Linked DNA regions of Homo sapiens: region 1 is linked to region 2. Evidence: promoter capture Hi-C in 16 types of primary human blood cells and fetal thymus (Javierre and others, 2016). All regions are on one chromosome and are shown on one strand. The core of a region is centred on a gene start or on the middle of the fragment in contact, and the rest is flanking DNA. Distances in the headings are between cores, read along the strand shown.

Region 1 (4,109 bases), core at 1,099-3,598, 3.8 Mb after region 2:
ACACACTCATGCACACTCACACCCACATAACACAACACTCACCCACACTCACCCACGCGTACACATACTCACCCCCACATAACACTCACCCACATACACGGCCACCTTCACACATACAACACCCACAAACACACCTACATAACACACAAACACACACACCACACACTCACATAGCACTCACACACTCACACCCACACAACACTCCCATGTACCCACATGACACTCTGACACATATACTCACACACACCCACAGAATTACATTTACATACACATGCACACACGTACACATACACACAACACCCACACACACACATGCATACAAAGACACCATGTACACACACACATGCATACAGAGACACCCACATGACACTCAAATTCACACACACACATTCATGCACTCACCCACCTCCACATTCACACACACACTCATACTCACACTTGCACATACAGGAACAGAGGCACATCCTGAATCCCCCTCCACACCTCAGGCTTCCCAGGGCGGCCTCAGGGGCCCGGTCTCTAGCCCAAATGCCAGAAGGTGTTACTGGTGAGATCCGCTGAAGAGCAGGCCACGTGTGTACTGATGATGCTGAGACTGGCGAAGGTTTTCTCTGAAGCAAGATGAAAGAGGAGCGTTCCTTCCCACCTTGCCATCTTCTAGACTTGATTTCAGCCTTGCCGGGCCCAGGGCTGTGGGAAGCGCGGGGCCGCGCGGTGTCGCTGGCTTGGGCCAATGTGGCTGCTTTGCCAGGTTTCTAGAACCAAAAATGTTGGGGTGAATTACGGGCCTGGGAGCTACTTCTGTGTTTTCTGGGGACTCCCAGCCCTCCCAGAGGTGGGACGGTGGTCACCAAAATTGTTCAGTGGTGGAGTGTTTTGGGTTTTGTTTTGTTTTTAGGGTGTGTGGCGGTCAAAGATGGAGCAGAGTGGTGCAAAAGGCTCAAGCTCTGGAATCAAACAGATCCCAGTCTCAGTCCAGCTCTCCACCAGCTCTGCCCCCTCGAGCCAGCTCTCTGCACCCCACTTCCTCATCCATAAAATGCTGTTGATAATAGTACCTGCCTCATGTAGTAGGTGTATCAAAGGAAACTGCTGGGGATTCGTATGCTGTCTAGCACACTGGATGTACTCAATGCATATGAGCAATACTATTACTATCGTTAGGCACGAGGGAAAGAGGGAAGGAAGTCGAAGAAGACTCGGGTTTTAGACAGAGCGAGTCGGGGAAAGGTGGTGTCTTGGGCTGGATGAGGAACCCAGGCGTGCAAGTGCATTTGGGAAACCTGTGAATTCCAGTTTTGGAAGTGCTGAATTTAGGATGCCTGGGGGACATGGATGGAAGCGGCCACTGCATGTTGAGAAGAGAGACTGGGCTGGAGTTGGAGATGGGGGATTCACAGCACATAAGGGGAGGTCTGGGCCAGCAGAGGACAGGAGGTCATTTGGAAAGGGAGCTTCCAATAGGAAGAAGACAGAACCCAGAGGGCCCAGCATGCAGAGGTGGTGGGAAGAAGGAAGCCCACAGGGGTGCGGGGGATTGTTGCAGATGGAGGAGGGAGGCCATCAGAAGGGACCCTGCCGAGGGAGAGGAGACCTCAGCCAGCACCCACTGGGTGCCTCACTTCTACTGAGCAGCCTACAAAGATAGGTGAGACCCTGGCGTGGCTCTGAAGAAACTGACAGACTCTAGGAGCTCCTGCAATTCTGTTTAATTGCTTCTTTTCTTTCTTCTCTCTTCCTTATGAACAAAGACTCTTCAGTCTTTGCTTATAAGGTAGAGCCTGTGGGAGCTCAGAGGCTCAGCCCTCTGTGTAGGGGGCAGGTCTGCTGAATGCATTACGTGGGTGGGCTGGCCAGACCAGATGTCCCGAGTTGCCTTCCAGATCCACGGAGCTTCCCCCGGGGCATCATGGCACACCGCCCCAGACAGTCGGTAGTTTGAGAAGAGAGTTAAATGCTCTGTTCGGGAAGGAAGGAAGTGTTGGAGGTCTCTAGGAATGCTATGCAGCTATATTACCATCTTTGGGATAGCAAAAGTTACATGCATTTCAAATTAATTTTAAAGCATGTCTAGCTTTGCAACAAAGCCACACATGTCTAGGGCAGGCAAGAAGCTAGATTTATGCAAATCGAATGATTAAATGTAAACACGTGTTAGAGGGAGCCTGATGGCTGGGCTCGGTGGCTCATGCCTGTAATCCCAGCACTTTAGGAGGCCAAGGCGGGTGGATCACCAGAGGTCAGGAGTTCAAGACCAGCCTGTCCAACATGATGAAACCCTGTCTCTACTGAAAATACAAAAACATTAGCCGGGCATGGTGGTGTGCACCTGTATTCCCAGCTACTTGAGAGGCTGAGGCACGAGAATCACTTGAAAGCAGGAAGTAGAAGCTGCAGTGAGCTGAGATAGTGCCACTGCACTCCAGCCTGGACAATAGAGTGAGACTCTGTCTCAAAAAAAAAAAAAAAAAAAAGCCTGATGATGAATGGGGTTGATGTGCTCAATATTTGCTCACATGGCTCAGCTGGTTAGTGTGGAGCTGCACCTCATCCACCCTACTGCCTGTCAAATTCTGCTCCCATTGTGATGAAAGACAGCCCCAATGCAAATATGTAAAAGATGCTCTCTATATACCCACTTTCTCTAGTAGGGCAACTCTGTCCAACTTCTTGCCCATATTCTGATAAGAGTGCACAGATTGTGAGCACAATTTGAACAGTGACTTTTAGCACTGTGCAAGGAAATCTTGAAATGCCAGTAACATCCAGGTTAGTTAATTTATAGGTACATAATGATGAAGAGGAAGATAGTACAAGAACAAAACACAGGTCTCTTGTGCTTAATGGGCCAGGAGTTGTTTTAAGTACTTTACGTGCAATAACTTGATCCTTACAACAACCATCACAAATGAGGAAACTGAGGCAGAGGTTAGGTAACTTGCCCAAGATTGCACAGTGAATAAGTGGGGGAGGCAGGATTTGAACCCAGGCAGGCTGCCTGCCTCAGAGTCCTTTTCTTTAGATACTATGGTAGCCACATCTCTGCATGATCTCATGTGACTTGATTAGCTTAACACAGCTTTTTCAAAAACTAAAATTTCTTTATCCTCTCCCTATTCCTAGTTTCTCCTTCCTTTCTTCCTTCCTTCCTTCCCTTCCCTCCTTCCCTTCCTTTCCTTCCTTCCCTTCCTTTCCTTCCTTCCTTCCTTCCCTTCCCTTCCTTCCTTCCCTTCCTTTCCTTCCTTCCCTTCCCTTCTTTTCCCTTCCCTTCCTTTCTTCCTTTCCCTTCCTTCCTTCCCTTCCTTTCCTTCCTTCCCTTCCCTTCCCTTCCCTTCCCTTCCCTTCTTTTCCCCTTCCCTTCCTTTCTTCCTTTCTGATGGAGTCTCATTCTTTCGCCCAGGCTGGAGTGCAGTGGCACAATCTTGACTCACTGCAGCCTCCGCCTCCCAGGTTCAAGAGATTCTCCTGCCTCAGCCTCCCAAGTAGTTGGGATTACATGTGCACACCATCACACCCAGCTAATTTTTGTATTTTTAGTAGACATGGTGGGGAGGTTTCGCCATGTTGGCCAGGCTGGACTCGAACTCCTGACCTCAAGTGATACACTTGCCTCAGCCTCCCAAAGTGCTGGGATTACAAGTGTGAGCCACCGCGCCTGGCCCTATTTTCATTTCTTTCTAATAGTTAGTGCTCTCTCTATCTCCTGCACTTGCTAATTCACATATATTCTCCCTTCAAATCTGCCTTGACAGCCTTCTGTTTTCAAGGGCCTCACAGCTACCTGGTTCCTTCTCTCAAAAGTTCCCTCTTCTGCAGGTAACTTCTCACTCACTTCCCTTGGACCACCCCTCTGTCTCTGTTAGTGTGAGGTGGGTTGTGTCCAGGGCCATCCACCAGAGGAAAGGGGAGAGAAGCCATACTTCTTGGGTCCAACGGGAGTCAAGGAGATCAAGGACCAGGTGTTGAGACCCGTATTTTGGTTTGGGAGGCTACAGGCAAGGTAGAAATGGAAGGCTGTTCTTGGCCGGGCACAATGGCTCACGCCTGTAATCCCAGCACTTTGGGAGGCTGAGGCAGGTGGATCACCGGTGAATTCCACAGACACTTAA
Region 2 (3,863 bases), core at 1,003-3,502:
TTTTTAAAGTAGATTTTAAATACTCTGGTAGAGAGAAGGGATTTAAAGATAAGGGCTTTGAAACTGCAAACACTTGGTCTTCTGAGCATCAATGCATGGTATACTGACCTACACACTAGGAAAATAAGAAAAATCTCCCCTTGCCACATCCAGAGTGAATAAATTGATAATAAGTACTACAAAAAGGTGATTTGGAAGTATTAATTAAAACTGAAAAGGCATGTACACCATGAACTAGCAATCCAACTGCTAGGTATCTACCCTCTAGAAATTATTGCATTCGTATGTACACAAGGAGACACGCCCAAGGCTATTAACTGAAGCATTTATTTTTATGACAAAAATGAGGAAAATCTATAAGACCATTCGTTTTGAAATGAATTCAAAAATGAGGTCATTCATAAAAGGGAATACTATGCAGCAGATAAAAGCAATCAACTAGATATATATTAACTTAGAACCATCTAAAAATACTTTGTTAAGTAAGAAAGGCAAGTTGTGGGATGACAAATACAACACGATAAAATTTAGTTTACAATAAAACACAGCAATAGTATACTAAAGATTGTACATGCCTGTATACTAAAGGTTGTATACAGACATATAGACAGATACCACCTTTAGTATATTAATATAATTAAAATTGTCATAGAAGGATAGAAAGATTTACATGCAAATCATATATTAGCAGTGGTATTTTGGAGGAGGAAGATAAAATTAGGATTGAGGGTGATGGACAAAGAAGACTTCAGCTCAATCTGTAATGTCCCGAATGAGGAAAAAAAAAAAAATCCCAAAGTTTCCGAAGCCAGAAGGAAGTGAAGAAGAGAGTTAAAAGGGGGCAGATATTGGTGATGGTTGCCAAGGAGGGCTTGGAATCTTGCCTTACACTCTGCTGTTGCTTTTAAATGCGGAGAAGGTTGGAGGAAAAAGAGGTCGCATCTGATAATATTGATCAGACTCAAAGAAGATGCGTGCCTCATGCCCTCCTGTCTGGTGCCCAGAGGTGGCAGCTGCTCAGAGGTCACTAGGTCACCATGGCAGAAGCACCGATGACCTGAATGCCTGTGGTAATGAATTCTTCCTTAGTCTTGCCTAAGACGTAAACTCAGCTGGGCGAACACCTTGATTTCAGTGTTGAGACCCTGAACAGGGAACCTTGTTGTAAGCTGCTAAGTTTGTGGTGATTTGCTATGCAGAATGGGGCCACAACAGGCAGCTTCGAGGCAAGTTATACAAAAATGAAATGACTGATCTTGCTCGCCTGAATACGATGGATTAAAAATATTATACACACTTTACATGTAAATGAGCAATGTATTGTCTCACACATAAGAAATCCTAGTTCTACTTGGGTTGTGGATTTTCTCCCCTCATTGCTGTAGGGGCCTTTCTTGCCTTCGTCCCTCCAAGGGAATATTCAGCACCTGCCATACCTCTTCTGAGCACACTGTCTTTTCTCGACAGCCCAGGTGAGGTACATTCCTGGTGCTCCCCAATCTATTCATATCAAGGCTGTACCCAGCTTTATCAAGGAAGACAATGTCCCTATAGGGCCAGGAAACAAGATCCCTCCCACCTTCTTTCAGACATTTTCTATGAACTTCTCCGAGGCCTTGGGGCCACGGCCTCATTAAAAGGACTGTTCTCTGGAGGCTCAGCAACGGAGGTCCTATCGGTACCCAGGATGACAACAGGAGAAAGTGATCAGCCGGTCATAAGGATTTCAAAAAAAAAAAAAAAAAAGAATATCTAAAAGTACTTATTAGAAATGAGAGTCACCAAATGTTTTACTTCAGGTATATCTATTATTTCATAGGTAATATGTAACTTCCTGAGAATCAAGACTGTAGGTCAGACCCAAATGAAGCAGTGATAACCCCGGGCTAAGAGCCCTCAGTTTACGGTGATTTTCTGAGTAGAAGGTATCATTCCTATGTTTAATATTCCTTCCTCATCCTGACTCAACAGCTATTCCATAGCATTAGGATATTTTGAGTCAAGGAAGTTCACAGTCTACACTCATTGAATTGAATGATATTGGTGAGGGGACCTACAGGAAGTCTTTCCTTGTAATGCTCAGGAATAAACAGGTGGTGGGAACAGAGATCCTTGTCAGCCCAGTGACCTTCGCACTTTATAAGTAATCCCAGGCAAGAGTTCTAGGAATGCAGCCTGCATGAGGGCTCAGGGCATGGTCAGATAGGGGCAGACCAGGGGCAGGTGCCTGGCTCCTCTCTGGGGTCAGAGCAGGCTCCCTCCCTGCCAGGTTGTGGGTGCAACATTCAGGGAATGGTTACTGAAGTGTTCCAGGCACCAGAGCTCAGGCAAGAAGTGGAAAACTGCGCAAGATCCTGCACGTGGGTACCATCAGTGCCTTTGTGGGGAAGTTACATCTGTGTGTATGTATATATACTTAGTATATATATACGATATACTTAGTGTACTTATATCGTGTATATATACTATGTACTTAGTATACTTACTTATATACAATGTACATATACTTAGTGTATATATACATTGCATGTTGAACTTACTATATATATACACACACACTACACACACACACTAATTGGTCCGCTAATTGGCTGTTGCATTTTGAACTTGGTATGTGTGTATATATACATGTGTGTGAGTATATATACACACATATATACGTATGTATATACATATCATATACATACATGTGTATAGATATGTGTGTATATATGTATATGTGTGTATATGTATATGTGTTTATATATGTATATATGTATTTATGTATATATACACACACACTAAATTCAATAGATATATATGCGTGTGTGTATATACACACACACACACACACACACACACACACACTGAGTTCAAAATGCAAGAGCCAATTAGTGGGCCAATATGAGAATTAAAAAAGAAAAAAATGTACAGCAAATTGAATAGGACGTATCAGAATGCATACCACATAATGACAATCAATATCACTTCATTAAATTTTTGCTCGACATACACACACGTATAAAATTATGTCTATAGTCATGATGTACGTACAATGTATTTTGTGTTGAATAATGTTGGAAAGCCACTGCAGTGGATATTTTGACATCTTTTATTAATATTTAAAAGAAGAGGGTGAAACAAAAAATGTGAAAAAAGACAAAAAAGTTTGACAGTACTGAATTTAGGAGAAATTGAAGGTTAGTTCTAGGAAATTTGCCTTCTTCCCCCTAGTTATGGCAAAAAATAACTTTTCTGGGGTTATAAGTCTGTGAAATATATAGGTAAATTTAAAAAATTTAAAAATGTGTAAATATCCAGTGTGAAATACATGTGAGATTGCTTACAGAAACGGACAAGGCCAATATACATGTGAGGCTTCTGGTTATAATGAATTCCAAGGAGATAAACTCATTTCATGTCCTCTGAGCCAACCGGGCAGTACCTACTTGGGAAAAATGTTTGAGGGCTCTCGATTTTTAAACCTGCTGAACCAATTAAAAGCGTATAAATTTTTCTAGAAGTCTAAATTAATTCTACGTCTATAATAATAATTATTTTTTTAAGTGATGATATGGGAAAAACCCAAAATATCTTTGCAACATACAGCCGTGCGTTTTTTCTCAGACCAACTATTTAGTGCCTCTTCCCTATTTGTAATCCAGTCTGCGTCATTTTTCAGGGCTTGTTTTGGGTCTCTGACTGCCTTCTTTGCTTAGAGTGTCTCTGTTTTCTGTCATAATTCACTATAGCATTCAACGGCTAAAATGACTTTTAAAACTACCTGGTGAATGGCAATACCACATCAAACCACTAGGTGGCAAAGCAGACTCGGAGAACGACCTCTCTGCCAGCAGGCGCTGAAGCAGCTACCCGTTCCCCAT

Evidence for each region. Contacts are between HindIII fragments. The CHiCAGO score rates a contact against its expected background, and 5 or more counts as called.
Region 1: a contact is called between a fragment that was not itself captured here and the fragment with the promoter of CHRM3-AS1 in region 2, in 1 of 17 cell types (total B cells). The highest score is 5.7, in total B cells.

What each region holds. Positions count from the first base shown.
Region 1 is chr1:236,097,588-236,101,696 of GRCh38, reverse strand. No RefSeq gene overlaps it. Among named protein-coding and RNA genes, the nearest start is that of NID1, 35 kb to the right of the region's middle. RefSeq lists enhancers at 3,941-4,109, 3,894-4,109. The HindIII fragment of the contact is 9,622 bases long and covers 1-4,109 here.
Region 2 is chr1:239,898,261-239,902,123 of GRCh38, reverse strand. CHRM3-AS1 (CHRM3 antisense RNA 1) reads left to right here and starts at 2,252. Exons shown (of 2, transcript NR_046582.1): 1 at 2,252-2,360; 2 at 3,732-3,863. All of the region lies in intron 6 of CHRM3 (cholinergic receptor muscarinic 3), which reads right to left. The HindIII fragment of the contact is 7,774 bases long and covers 1-3,863 here.